3 separate regions of the Homo sapiens genome follow, and regions 2 and 3 are each linked to region 1. Evidence: promoter capture Hi-C in 16 types of primary human blood cells and fetal thymus (Javierre and others, 2016). All regions are on one chromosome and are shown on one strand. The core of a region is centred on a gene start or on the middle of the fragment in contact, and the rest is flanking DNA. Distances in the headings are between cores, read along the strand shown. Region 1 holds the start of OR4K5 (olfactory receptor family 4 subfamily K member 5). Region 2 overlaps TTC5 (tetratricopeptide repeat domain 5). Region 3 overlaps OR11G2 (olfactory receptor family 11 subfamily G member 2).

Region 1 (5,065 bases), core at 1,268-3,767:
AATATATAAAAATAGATGCCTAGCTCCCAAAATGTACAAAATGAGTTACAAAGCGATGAAATTCTTAAGTATAAAAAGCAATATATGTTTTAATTTACAGAAGAAAATCTAAATAATGTCTTTATGATCTTGACAGAGAGAAGGATTTCTTAAATCAGACACATACACACAAAAAAAGATACCAAAAATGATTCACAAATCCAACCACATTAAATTTTCTAAAAATTATTACAAAGGCCATTTGAACAGCTGATAAATTTTACAACACTCTTGAAATGAAAAAATAAAATAGAGTGATGGGGAACAGATCATTGGTTGCCAGGGTTAAGATCACAGGGGAGACAGCACAGGAAAGTTTCTTTGAAGTGACGGAAGAGGTCTATGTCCTTATTGTGGCTGTTGTGACTACATGAATCTATTTATGCAATGATATTTCATAATACTATAAAGCAATAGTAAAAAAAAAAAGAGTACATGTAAAAACTGATTAAATCTGAATCTGAATCGTCTTCAGTTTACTTTGAAAAAAAAAAATACCATAGGCCTAAAGGAGAGAAACCAAAGAAGAAATAAATGTGGAAGGGTGATGCCCTGCCCAAGGTTGAGTTTCAGAACTCTTTGGAGAGAATATGAGTGAGGCCCCCTAGATGGAGAGAGGTTCTCTGGGTTGCACTGGACCAGATCTAGTCCACAGAAGGTGAAGTGAAGATGGGGATCAGAGAATTTAAGGCCAAGGCTGGCAATAAAACTTGCTGGAGGATGAGTACCACTGGGTGCCTGAACATAAGCCACTGGCAGCTGCACTGTAGGAACAAGAAGAGAAGTGGCACAAACGAAAATCTTGGTGTTGAAATAGTTCAGCTTTCTAGATTCTCCTCTCTTTTCTGCAACTCATAATCTAAAAGGAAATTGGAATTATCTAGCCAATCAGAGGCAGCCCTTTAAATGAAAGGTTTAAAATGGAAGCTTCTGAGTATGTATCATTCCATATTTTAAAGCATTTTAGCTATTTGAAAACCGTATGGGATAGGCATAATTGATTTTTGGGGGGGGGAGTCTCATAACCTAATAATCTCCACTTGAACTTAAGCAGTTATATTAAATTGTAGTTTGGCTATTCCCTGAAGTTGGCAAAATTCAGTTTCAGATTCTTAAATACTATTCATCCACATAGAAGTTTTAGGCATGTTGTTAAGAAAACTCTTAAAACCTGACAAATGTTTGAATGTATGCCCACCAGAGAATTAGGTTCTCATTGATTTTTTTCTTGATATTTACATTTACCCCGTAACAAAAGCAGTAAATGCATACATATTATCCATCTAGTGCCCATATTTTATTTCTAGAACCAGTAATCTAAACAGAGATTTTTCCATGTTTTTATATTTAACTTTCACTTGATACCTAGAAAAAGACTTGTTAATATTCATTAAATGTTCTCTATATTATCTTCTTCACTACTTTCCCCACAATTGAGATACACCACAAAAATACATTAAAATATTAAACAGTGTATTGACCTGAGGAATTTGAAGGAGTTTTGTCTTAATGAAAGGAAGTTCTCACTACTAGTGACATTTCAGAAATTCTCCTTGGCCTCAGGTAATGGTTCACAATTTTCCTTACGGCAGCCTTCATATCCCTATTCCTTAGTGTATAAATAATGGGGTTTAGGACGGGGGTGAAAACAGTGTAAAATATGGCAAGAAATTTATCCAAAGGAGAGATGGTAAAGGGCCACACATAGATGAAGATGCAAGGTCCAAAGAATAATATTACTACTGCAATATGGGAAGCCAGCGTAGAAAATGCCTTTGCCATTGCAGCTGAAGACTTGAGCCAAACTGTAACAAGAATAATGATGTAGGAGCTGACCAAGAGAGAGAAAGTGCTTAGGGAAAGAATTCCACTATTGACCACAATTAGTATTTCAATGATGTAAGAGTCCAGGCAGGCAAGTTTGGTGACTCGAGGAAGATCACAAAAAAAGCTGTCTACTACATTAGGTCCACAAAAAGGCAGGTTCACAGTAAATGATAACTGGCTTAATGTGTGCACCAAGCTCACAGCCCAGGAGATCATTACCAAGACAGTGCATGTCCTTCGGCTCATGATGACCACATAGTATAAGGGTTTGCATATGGCTACATACCTGTCATAGGCCATCGAAACAAGTAGCACCATCTCCCCTCCAGTAAAAAGGTGAATAAAGAAAATTTGGGCTATGCAGCCACTGAAAGATATGGTCTCGTGTGCACTCAGAAAATCTGCAATCATTTTAGGGGTAGCAAAAGAAGCCTGACAAATGTCAACAAAGGAAAGGTTTCCCAAGAGAAAGTACATAGGGGAGTGCAGGCTGGTATCAGAAGTCACTGTGAGGATAATGAGAAGATTTCCCAGCACAATGACTGTATACAACACAGAGAAGAAACAAAAATAGAAAAGCTGGAGTTTTTGAGAACTACAGAGTCCCAACAGTACAAATTCAGACACCACTGAAGAATTGGACTTATCCATGGTTCCAAGCTGCAAACTTGTTCTGAAACAACTCTAAAGGAGGATAAATAGAAAGGAATCAGAATTTGAATTAAGAATACTTTTAAGGTGAGGGATTCTGAGATCTCAGATATAATGTGCATTTGCTGAATGCAAAAATTTTGAAGAGGCCATAATAGTATGTCTGGATAGGTGGATAATAGGAAAGAACTTATGTAAATGTCTAAATAATGCTTAATAATTTAATCAGTATAATTAGAACCCCTTGAGTTTTTGGATAGTCCTTGTCTTTTATACAGTAGGAAATGAGCTTACCCAGGAGCTGACTCATGACAACAAGACTAGAGGAGTGACCTAGAGTCCAGCTCCACAAGCCTCATAGGTTGACAAAAAGTGTTTACATTTGCTTGTCTTGTGGTCATCTTACATCATCAATTATACAACATTCTTAACTTTTGAAGAGATATTCATGGCTTGATTATTATTACATGATGTAAAGTCACACAGATTAACTTTTGGCCAATTATTTTATCTGAGCTTTAATTCCACACCTTAAAAAAGATGGGAGGTATAAAAATACCTACTTTACAGAAAACTTTAGAGTTTAAGCAGAATAACTCATGACATTCTACCATCAAAGTAATTGTATTGCAACATATGATCTTAATACATTAAACACCCTATATTAATAGAAATTTACCTTCGTGCTCCTGCAGGAGTCATTTACAATTAGGCAATTCCTGCTAAACAGATACTATTGAATGTATATTATACTGGCCTATAGTTCCAACTGAGTTTGTCAATTAGTTATCCAATAATTTCTTAAAACACATATTATGGCTTACCTGAATTATCTAAATCCTATTTTCTGTTGATTATCCAAGAGTGGAACCTAAATTTTTCATTTTCTTTGCCTATCAGAATTAGATTTCAGCCCACTTACATTCTCCCTGCTAGAGTTCTCCATGATCTTCTTAAAACATCTTTATAATTAATGCTGGAAAATGAAGTTTAAAAAAAATTTCTGGATAGAGAAGTAAAAATGATTATAAACCTCTCATGCTCTTGAAAATATCTAAAAATTTGCATCGTATGTTTTTCACCCTGTAAAGACATACCCCTACTGTATAAATCTAGTTCAGTTGAACTGGAAAAACTTTAAAGAAGTGCTGTTTTAGGAAACCATATTAGTTCTGACAATTAACTGTTGACAACAGTCATAGTAAGAGGCCTGAGAGAGTAATGATCTAATTCTAGTCCCATGTGAGAACATGAACATCTTTTTCTGCTAATTTATTTCATACAAGAAGCCAGAGTCTTTCCTTTGTCTCTAGGCTACAGACCTAGTCTCTCATTTAGATGAATGCAGTTGCAATCCACACCGGGAAGCCCCACAGTAAACAATCATATTGTGTACTCTATTGGAAGAAGGTTCAGAGAAGCATTCCACTGGGCCACATTTTGGATATACATTATTGTAAACTCTGGAACTACGGCAAACAAAAAGATGACTCATTATAATTGTTTAAAGCATTAGTAACAACAAATCAGTGTCTATAATATACAAGAAGGCAATAACTAAGAGGATTCTGAAATATGATGTAATCACTTTATGCCATGTGTGACTCATTTTGTTCCCCCATTTCTAAAATAAAAGTGTCCTTGCTCAAGTTCATGTATTTATTACATAAAATGATTAACTCTACCTAACGAAAATGTTTATTGTATGAATGTAATGTATTAAGCTAAAAATTGAGGCAGATTTAAATATAGTGAATGATGAATCATAATTTTAAAATTTACAAATGAAGGGCAAAGAGAGCTTGCATTTGTTCAGACGCTGCTAGATAGCATCTACTGTGTATACATGTTTTATCAGGTGATCTTTACAACAGACCTTTGGAAAAGGGGTTACTAAACTGCAGAAGAGAAAAACAAAGATTAGACATGTTTACTAATCTGTGGTCAGACATCTAGTAAGGGTCAGAACATCTCAGTGGGGATTTGAAATCAGATAATAAAAATAATATTTAACATTTACTAAGCATCAAAGTGTTAGGCACTGTTCTGAGCTCTTAATGTATAGTAATTGAATCTTCCCATAACACTGCATGGTAAATGCACTTACTAATTCTATCTTACAATAAGAAGTCAGAGATACGGAGATGATAAGCAGTTTCCCTGAAGTTCCATAGCTGGAGAGCCATTAAACTAGAATCTGAACCCTGGTATTTGACTCCAAGGCCAGGTCTTGCCACATTACAACATCCTGTTTCAGATCTGAATATAAAACTCATGCCATTGACACTATGTTACAACTGGAAATTCCCTCAATATATGCTCATGATTCTAATCTTTTCACCTGCTATGAGGCATTCATTCATCAGTTGAGCCAGAGTTTCCCAACTTTGGCATTATTGACATTTGGGGTTGAATTACTTTGTTGAAACAGACTGTCATGTGACTACTGTAGGGTGTTCAGGAGCATCTCTGGCATTACCCATTAGATGCCAGCTACACTTTCCCCCCAGTTATGCCAACAAAAATGTCTCCAAACATTACAAAATGT
Region 2 (5,065 bases), core at 1,796-4,295, 370 kb before region 1:
TCCTGGCCATCTATTTTAGTTAGAGTCTGAATTTGGTTTTCTATCTGTGTTTTAAGGGAACTTGGATGTAGAAACATGATTCCGCATGTGTCTGGAGCTAGGTTTATGGGCAGAGGAAATGCATTAAATGAACACCATTTCTATCCTAGCCTTTCTTCATTTATTACCAGCACTTCACTATTTAAATTTTTAAAAATCAAAATGATTTCACCTATTTCATTCATTTATTTATTTTTTTTGAGATGAAGTCTCACTCTGTCACCCAGGCTCGAGTGCAGTGGTGCAATCTCGGCTCACTGCAACCTCCACCTCCCATGTTAAAACAATTCTACCTCAGCCTCCTGAGTAGCTGGAATTACAGGTGCATGCCACCATGCCTAGCTAAGTTTTGTATTTTTAGTAGAGACAGTGTTTCACCAGGTTGGCCAGTCTGGTCTTGAGCTCCTGACCTCAGGTGATCTGCCAGCCTTGGCTTTCCAAAGTGCTGGGATTACAGGTGTGAGCCACTGTGCCCGGCCCACATATTTCATTTATATAAAGATTTATTCTATCTTAATACTACTACATGGATAAATTATAATAATATTTTGAAGTCTCACACATACAAAAACACTTATATCCCTAAGGTTTTGGGACTAAGATATCCACACTGTTATACGGTAACTGCTTCTGTGGTATAAATACCATTTTGGCAAGGAAGAAACTTCCATTTCTCTAGAAAGAGGAGGCGTAGGACATGTTGGGCATGTCAGTCCTTAACATTGAGACAGGATCCACTGATAATCTTTTCATCCCATTATAGGAGAAAGTTGACAGAAAAGCTTCTAGCAATCCTGACCTTCATCTGAACAGGGCGACGGTAAGACCTTTGGGGTGTAGTCATCTGAGGGTCAAATAAATAAGACACCTATGTCTTAGCTTGTGAGGATAACTGAGTTTGCATAGGGACAAGATTGGGTACAGACTGCGAGAGGAAAGCCATGCTATTTCTATAAATAGCTAGCTCGGTTTGGCTTCAGTATCTGGTGTAGTCACTGGAGGGAAAGGAGAAGGGGCTGTGGAGGTGGAAGAATAGGTAGAGAATGGGGGGATCTTTTAGAAGACTTCTGAAATGTTAAGTAAATATAAAGGTCAAGTGAGCCAATATATACAACTTAACTATTTTAGAGTTTGGAAATTAGCTTCTTTGAAATGATTCCATCTTTGGGGTTGTGATCATCTTGGCTAGGAAGAAGGATGTAAGGTGTTACCAGCTCTTCAGGCTGTTTGTTGCAGCACAGGAAAATAACCAGGAAGGAAAACAGTTTATTTCTCTAGATTCCTAGCCCATGGTGCCATTCCCTCGGGATAGTTTGTCTGGATATACTTATAATTGGGATACACTTCTTGTACAGTTGCATAAATATGAAGAGAGTTATGGGGAGGCCCTGGAGGGCTTCTCTCGGGCTGCAGCCCTGGACCCTGCCTGGCCAGAGCCCCGGCAACGAGAGCAACAACTTCTGGAATTCCTGGATAGATTAACCAGCCTCCTTGAGAGTAAGGTAAAAATGTCTGAAGGGCTGAATTCCACTTTTTTTTTTTTTATTTTGTCGTGGGTCAATAAAATAAGAATAAATAGGTTTACGAGGTAGAGACCCTATAGAAGTGGGTGGGAGGGAAGGATTAGAATCTCAAGGAAGGCGACTAGTTTCCAGCTTCTTACCTATTTCCCCTTCTTTGCAGGGAAAGGTGAAGACCAAAAAGCTGCAGAGCATGCTGGGAAGCTTGCGCCCAGCCCATCTAGGCCCTTGCAGTGATGGGCACTATCAGTCAGCCTCTGGGCAGAAAGTGACCCTGGAGCTCAAGCCACTGAGTACGCTTCAGCCTGGGGTGAACAGCGGTGCCGTCATCCTGGGAAAGGTGGTATTTAGCCTCACCACAGAGGAGAAAGTCCCCTTGTGAGTTTCTCTTGGATTTCCCCCATTTTACCCTTTTGAACTAATTGCTCTCACTTCCTGTTCTTTCCCTGGCAGTTGAGGAGATTGTCAGTGGTCACAGATTTGTGACTTCTGATTTCCTTCTGTGACTATCCCGTGGGCAGATATTGTCTGGGTGATGTTTAACCATCTTTTGATCAGAGGCTTTTGTAGATTCTGTCACTGCCCATTTTGTATCCCTGAGTTTGGTGCTATGTGGATTCCTATATCCATAGTTGAAATTTGGCAGGACATATTTTTTTATAAGACAGAAACCTCAAAATTCTTCTGTCCCTTTGCATTTTCATGATCATAGAAGTTGAAGGAGGACAAATTTCTTAGTCCTGTTTGTACTTAGGTATACTTAGTTCTGAAAAGTGAGCTTTGAGTTATAATTTAAAGTCTGGTTGGGAGATTGTCTTAGATGTCATTCAACAAATATTTATTGAGTGTGTAATATATGTGTCATAGGGAGTGAGAAAAAAGAAATGTAAAGGACCCAGGTGCAGGTGCTTCTAGCAGCAGAGGAAATGAATTAAGAATATTTGTTTAGAAAATTTTTGGATCTTGAAAAGTTACGGTTTAGTGAATGCCACCACTCCTTGGTCCTTCACTCACTTCCTAATCCCTGGTTGACCGGTTTCCCCTTTCTCTTTTCTACTGAAATTGTTATTTTCCTAGGATCACCATTGTCTTTCTAGGCACTGGATCCAGCAACTTCTATTGCATGGTTCCAAAACATTCTGACTTATCTCTCACTATTGCTTTTCACATCCTTTCTGTTCATCTAAACAGAAATATTCACAATTCCCATTATATGCCCAAGCTTTCTCCATGGCATTTTCTAGGGGTTTGTATATTTGACGAGTTGAAGGGCAAAAAGATAGTTGAGAACAGTTTAGTTTACTAGAGCAAATCCTAGAGCTGAGAAGAATTAGAAAGGGATATAGACAAAGGTAGGTTTTGGAGGACCTTGAGAACAAATAGATATTTTGCCACTCCTTGGTTTCTCTTTTTCTGCCTAACTTTTAAATCTTAGGTTCCCAGGACTCTATTTTTGTTTTTTTCCTTTTTTCTCTTTATATCAGGATGGCCTATAGTTGCCAACTTTGATCACTTGTCAGTGGTTGCCTGACATACTGTGTAGAAGGATTCTGAGGCTTTGACTGGATTCATCAGGAGAGTGCTTTGCTTGATTGCAATATTTCCTGTGAATTCAGGCATGTCACGTGATGGCATGAGTGTGATTCTTCTCCATCCTGTCTATAGATCATCTTGCCCTGTGATGTCATATAAACCCAAGGCTTTGGCAGCCTCCTATATGCTTACAGATATATCTCCAGCCCAAGCTTCATTTCCAAGTGTTGGATTCCTATAACCATCTGCTTCTGGGTTCCAATAAGAAATCTCTAACTCAGTATTTCAGTATTACTCACCTAAATCTTTCTCTGTAAACCTGCTTCTCCTCCCTGGATTCCTTGTGAATGAATGGTATCACCTCTCAGTCACTTGATTAAGACTTTTGGAAGAATAGGCTTCTCCATTCTCCAAAAAGATTTGCCTTTTTTGTCCTATAGACTTGACTTCTCTGTGTTTACCACCTTAATTCACCCCCTTATCACTTCTCCAGATAGGTCTCCCTGATTCTCTGGTTTCCTCCAGTGTTCCACAGTGCTGCCAGAGAAATGTTTCTTAGATGGAAATCTGACCATTGCTACTTCTTATTTAAGATCCCTTACTGGTACTATATGTAGCTTTTGGGATAAAGTGTGAACTACTTAGGTTAGCATACAAAGTCCTTCATGATTTGCTCCCTGCTTCTCTTTCTATTATCTTTTGTCTCTTTCCCACCAGTGCCTTTTGTTTCAACCATGGAACAATTTTGTTGGTTTTAGAACAGCTGTTTTCATGCCTCTGTGTCTTACATACAGTTACTCTGCCTGGATAATCTCTAGCTTCTTCTTGACATAGCTAACATCCTCTTCTGCCCCCAACATTTTGTATAAAAATTTTCAAACATATAGCTAAGTTGAAAGAGTTTTACATTGAACATTTGTGTTCTCATCCACTTATATTCTACCATTAATATTTTATTTTACTTAGCTTATTACATATCAGTCTGTTTATCCTGCTATCAGAGTAAATTGCAGAGATCAATATACTTTACATACTTTAGCATGCAGTCATTAACTGAGTTCAGTATTTGTTTCAATTTTTTCTTTTTATGTAAAATTTACATACAATGAAATGTACAATTTTAAGCGTACATTTCATAGCTTTTAACAAATGGAAAATATCTGTATAACCCAAATAGAGATCATTACCACCATTCTGGGAAGTTCCCTGATGTTGCCTCCAAGTCAAAATCTCTGTTCCTATCCCCTCAGAGGTTTTTAACATTTTTACCGAGGATTAATTTTTCTCTTTTAACCCAGCTGGTTTTTTACCCTTTAAGATTCACTTTGAGCGTCACCTCTTCCAGGAAATCTTCCCTGCTTTCCAATTTTGATTTAGATATTTGTCCTCTGGGCTCCCACAGCCCAATCTGTGGCTTCATTGAATTCAGCACAAGGGAAAAGCTATTCTAGCACCCATCACACTGTGCTGTAAGTGATGACTTCATTGTCTGACTCCTGCTAGACTATAGGTCATTCATAGCTGGATTGGTATCTTATTGCTAAACACAATGCTTGGCACATATGTAATATTCAGTGAAAGTTTGTGGAGTTAAACTACACAGACAGTGATGGTTAGAGGCTTTGGTTAAGAGTATGATAGTTAAATTGATAGACCAGGAATAATGTTACAACTGTAACATGTTGGTCTAGTTCATCATTAATATTTGTTGAATGGCTTCAGTGTGCTTTGTCCTAAGTTCTTAGCAAAGTGACTGATGAGTTTCAGAAAAATGAAGACTCAGATATATAAAGTGGAAGATGGTACCTCTCATAGGTTTTCTGAGTAACTGAGAAAAAGCATTTGTTTATTTTGTTAGTATTTTATTTTTAAAGTTTAATTAAGTTAAATTTTATATTTTATTTTAATTACCTGTCACTGACTTTAAGTCCAGTATTTTGCTAGTATTTTTAAACCACTGTTTCTGCTCTTCT
Region 3 (5,065 bases), core at 1,810-4,309, 280 kb before region 1:
TCATAGCTGTTAGTGTTCATAATAATACTACTAATAAATATAATTACAAAGTTACTAGGATAATTTTTTAGCAGAATCATTTAAAAACCTAAATGAAAAACAATAAATTAATTTTTAATTTTTATTTATTTATTTGTTTATTTTTGAGACAGGGCCTTACTCTATCACCCATGCTGGAGTGCAGTCGCGGGATCATAGTTCATTGCAGCCTTGACCTCCCAAGCTCAAGCGATCCTACTGCCTTAACCTCAGTAGCTGGGATGATAGACGTATGCCACCATGCCAGGCTAATTATTAAATGTTTTGTAGAGACATGTTCTCATCATGTCTCTAGCCTAGGGAACATGATGAGAAGCTTTCTCTACAAACCTTTGGCCCCTCAAAGTGCGGAGATTATAGGCGTGAGCCACTGCACCCGTCCAATGAATTTAAGTGAACCTGAATGACTAGATTAAAAAGTCATATGTCATTCAAATATGAATATTTCATGTTCATATTATCTCATAGTGAAGCTATGGGCAGCTCCTTTTAGTTGGTCAGATTCATTTTTTCGACCTTCTTGTATATTCTGGCACTTAGAAACATACAGGTCGGTCTAACATAAAGAAGACATAAAAACACAGTAGTATTAATAATTCAAAAGGCAGAAGATAAAGTATTAAAGGAAGGGCATTACATTTCCTGGGATGTGCATAAAAGTAATGGGAATAAGTTATATTTAATCAGAGGCATTGTAGAAAGTGAGTTATTAAGCATGACTTCTAATACCAAATTATGTAATTTATCAAATTTCCAAATAATGAGGCATTCCTTTGCAAATAATTAGGCAAGAACGTTTAAGGAAGTGTTCAGCTGAGGAGGATCTGGGTAGCTGGGCACAGATGTCAACAGTTCATTACAACACTTATACTGGAGATGCGGTGCATGAAATCACACGTCTAGAAACTCACAAAATTTTGCAAAAATATGTTCATATTATAAAGGCATTTCACTGGAGCTAGCATCCATGTGTAGATGTCTTAGAAGAAGTCAAGTGAATCCTAGACAGGGGAAAAAGTTACTTACCCTTCATGATAGAGTCCTAGGAATACAAACCGAGCCTGTGCCTTCTCATTGATACATCTCTTTGCCTTATGTGGACTCAAAACCTGGAGCCTGACCCAGAGAATCCTAGGATATATAAAGGTAACTGTTGAAACTCCCTTTTCTCCTTTCCTGAAGTGCTCAAAAGGAACACTTACAGGTAATTCTTTGGGTAACAGTTATAGCCAGAGGAAAGAAGCACACTCCTCCTATGGTCAGCCCTTGAGGTTTAGGCCTCGACTGACAGGGTGGTTATTTTCATCAAGGGCTACATAAAGGACCTCAGTCACCTCCGGGCACCCAGACCTTCCAATTGTCTCATCCAGCAGAGAAAGGTCAACAGGTGAGTTTTATATATGAATTACTTTTGTGGCAGAATAGTGCCACAAAAGCAGTGGCATATGAACCTCATGAAGAGATTTCAGAAAGAGGGTGCAGGTGAATGAAGAAATGTGTCACTGTGATTCAGGGGTGCAATTAAAGTTTTGTCTTGGAGATTATTGTGATGACTTCAGTCTTCCCTTGGGCTGGTTTATGACTCCCTCAAGAGTCCTTGGCATAGCATCCTTTCTTCCATCCACAGTTTTCATGTAGTTTAGGGCAAATTGGACCCCAGAGCAAAGGCAAGAAGAATGTTTTGAAAGGCAATGATGAGACGTCTGTGTGGAATTCGAGATAACTTCTTTTTGTTCATAGGAAAAGTTATAAAAACTAATTTCTAGAAAATCAGTTGTAATGTCCTCATTTAATTTCTAATTTTTGTTGAGTCTTCTTTTTTTCTTAATCTAGCTAAAGTCTTGTCCACTTAGTTTATCTTTTTGAATAACAAACTTTTGGTTTTGTTCATTTTCTCTACAGTTTTATATTTTCACTTCATTTATCCCTGCTGTAATCTTCATTATTTCCTACCATTTGCTAGCTTTGAATTTAGTTTGTTCTTCTTTTTCTAGTTTCTTATGGCATAAAGTTAGGTTTTTGAGTTGAGATTTTTCTTCTTTTATAATGTAAGCCTTTATAGCTATAAATTTCTCTCTTAGTGCTGCTTTCTTTTCATCTTGTAAATTTTGGTATGTTGTGTTTTCATTTTTATTTGTCTCAAGATACTTTATAATTTCCCTTGTGACTTCTCTGACTCATCGCTTGGTTTAGATTGTGTTGTTGAATATCCACATATTTGTGGATATTTCTTTTTGCTGTTGATTTACGGTTTTATTCCATTGTGATTTGAGAAAGATAGGTACGATTTTAATCTTTCAAAATGATTAAGGCTGTTTTGTGACTTAACATTTCATGTAGGCTGGAGGATTAAAATATTTTACTTAAAAATTTTGAGTTGTGTCCATTCATAAAATGAAACAAAGGAAAAAGAGGATGGCAAAGTCTTTAATAGAAAGCCTACAGCCTGGGCAACATAGAGAGACCCAATTTCTAAAAAAAAAAAAAAAAAAATTAGCCAGGCATGGTGGCATGTGCCTGTGGTCCCAGCTACTTGAGAGGCTAAGGTGGGAGGATTGCTTGAGCCCAAGAGGTTGAGGCTGCAATTAGCTGTGATCATACCACTGTATTCCAGCATGGGTGACAGGGTGAGATACTATCTAAAAAAACCCCCAAACTGCAAACAACAACAACAAAAAGAAAGCCTAACACCTTTGAACTAAAAAAAAAAAAAAAAAAAAAAGATGAAGAGATTGCTAGTGTAATGGGGAAATTGAAGAAAATTCAAACGAGAGCTAAACCATGGCCACAAACTTCCAGGGATGAGTGATTCCCTTCTGAGTGGCATCAGGTCTAGCTCTGGTTCATCCTTACCTGAGGATGAAGACCATTAGAGCACCAGCTTTTTGTGACCACCCCCTCCCCACCAGCACCAGGTTCCTATTTCTATCTCCTCAGCCAGGAATTGTCCTGAAGCATAAGGATATGAACTACAGTCAAGTGCTCTCTGAGCATGAATGGCCTTAGTGCTCACCTCTCAGGCTTTCATAAAAAAATGACTTAGCCATTTTCTATTCTCTCTTCAGATTGTCAATGTTTTTAAGTTTTTTTTTAAATTTAGTATTTTTATTTGATCACAGCAAGATGGTAGATCGAAGCAATTCAACATTCTATTACTAAAATCTATATTTACTTAACATTTTAAATAATATCTCTCTTTTGTATTCAATTTATATTATTACTATTATTATTGTTATTTTTTGAGATGAAGTTTCACTCTTGTTGCCCAGGCTGGAGCACAATGGCATGATCTCAGATCACTGGAAGCTCCACCTCCCGGGTTCAAGGGATTCTCCCGCCTCAGCTTCCCAAGTAGCTGGGATTACAGGCATACGTCACCACACCCGGCTATTTTTTTTTTTGTATTTTTAGTAGAGACAGGGTTTCACCATGTTGGCCAGGCTAGTCTCGAACTCCTGATCTCAGGTGATCCACCCACCTCGGCCTCCCAAAGTGCTCGGATTATAGGCATAGCCACCACGCCCAGCCTATATTATATTTTATGGTCATACTTGCTTTGTCTCTGGGACCTTAGTAGTAACCACTAGCAGTGGTTGATTATACGATGGTGTAAAATAATTTCTAGAAGCACTTCTATTCTGTAACCTGAGGTGCACTTGCAAAAAGACAATGCCTGTGCTGTGCTTACAACCTCTTTCACACAAGTTCCATACTTACATACATGCAGCTTCTCGTGAGCTTCCACTGTAATTAGGCCTTCCCCTCTCACTGAACTTTTGCTACTTAACAAAAAGAAAACCTTCCAATTTTCTCGATCACAAGACTGTGAATCCTATGAGGGAAGAAAATGTGTCTTATATACCTTTGTCTCAAATTTATTTCCTGGCTCAATGTTTGGTACATTGCAGGTGCCGAACAAGGGCAATAAAAATCAGTAATTGAAAAATAAGGGAGATGATGTCTAAATATAACTGTGATAAAACTCGTTAAAGTTTTATAACAGTATATTTACACAAGCCCTAAGATGAGGAAGCTGTATCTCAGGTTTTTTCTAAAGTACGAAACTATCTGAGTGAAATTATGTTAAGGGGCTCTGAAGACCTCGCTTCAACATTTCTATCAATAAACAGGCTCCTAAGGAACCCTAGAATTGCGGGAAAAAATGATTTTCCAAATCTAATGATCAGAAAGTTCTCCTAGAAAATTGTTCTTTGTTGGCCGGGTGCAGTGGCTCACGCCTGTAATCCCAGCACTTTGGGAGGCCGAGGTGGGTGGATCACCTGAGGTCAGAAGTTCGAGACCAGCCTGGCCAACATGGTGAATCTCCATCTCTACTAAAAATACCAAAAATTAGCCAGGCGTAGTGGCGGGCACCTGTAATCCCAGCTACTCAGGAGGCTGAGACAGGAGAATCATTTGAACGTGGGAGGTGGAGGTTGCAGTGAGCCGAGATGGCGCCATTGCACTCCAGCCTGGGCAACAGGAGCTAAACTCCATCTCAAAAAAAAAAAAAAAAAAAAAAAATTGAAAATTGTTCTTTGTTTAAAGAACTTACTCATATAACCAAACATCACCTGTTCCCCAATAACCTATGGAAATAAAAAAATTTTACAAAATATGTTTTATTATTTTTTCAATGCATAATATAGGCACATGATAAAGAATTTGAACGCACAAAAGGAGTTATGAAAAAAAAGTCTCCTTTACTATCTTGTTCCTTAGACACAAAATTCTTCTTGCCTGAAGCAACCATTGTTATCAGTTTTTTGGAGCTCTTTCAGGAGATATACACATTTCCATGGAAGGCAGCTACAATACACTCTGCTATTCACTTTGCTTTTTTCATTTAACAGTGTGTCTTGGACATATTATATATCATTGCATATGGAACTGCTTCATAGTTTATAAATTGAAGACATAATATTCCATGGTATAACTCACCATAGCTCATTTTACTAGTCTTCTATTAATGGGAACTGATGTTTTTCTCAATATTTTGCTATTACAACAATGCTGCAGTAAACAT

Evidence for each region. The method cuts DNA at HindIII sites, captures the fragments that hold promoters and counts their contacts. A CHiCAGO score of 5 or more calls a contact.
Region 2: a fragment that was not itself captured here is called in contact with the fragment with the promoter of OR4K5 in region 1 in 1 of 17 cell types (M1 macrophages); the score reaches 5.8 in M1 macrophages.
Region 3: a fragment that was not itself captured here is called in contact with the fragment with the promoter of OR4K5 in region 1 in 1 of 17 cell types (neutrophils); the score reaches 5.2 in neutrophils.

What each region holds. Positions count from the first base shown.
Region 1 is chr14:19,918,059-19,923,123 of GRCh38, reverse strand. It overlaps OR4K5 (olfactory receptor family 4 subfamily K member 5), which reads right to left and starts at 2,517. Exons shown (of 1, transcript NM_001005483.1): 1 at 1,546-2,517. The coding sequence starts at 2,517. The coding sequence ends at 1,546. All of the region lies in intron 2 of LOC124903278 (a long non-coding RNA gene), which reads left to right. It also overlaps a transcript of OR4K1 not described here. The HindIII fragment of the contact is 8,373 bases long and covers 969-5,065 here.
Region 2 is chr14:20,292,184-20,297,248 of GRCh38, reverse strand. It overlaps TTC5 (tetratricopeptide repeat domain 5), which reads left to right. Exons shown (of 10, transcript NM_138376.3): 6 at 803-859; 7 at 1,395-1,541; 8 at 1,723-1,937. Among named protein-coding and RNA genes, the nearest start is that of TTC5, 11 kb to the left of the region's middle. RefSeq lists an enhancer at 994-2,193. The HindIII fragment of the contact is 523 bases long and covers 2,784-3,306 here.
Region 3 is chr14:20,200,694-20,205,758 of GRCh38, reverse strand. It overlaps OR11G2 (olfactory receptor family 11 subfamily G member 2), which reads right to left. Exons shown (of 2, transcript NM_001386033.1): 2 at 4,684-5,065. Among named protein-coding and RNA genes, the nearest start is that of OR11G2, 12 kb to the right of the region's middle. The HindIII fragment of the contact is 5,403 bases long and covers 358-5,065 here.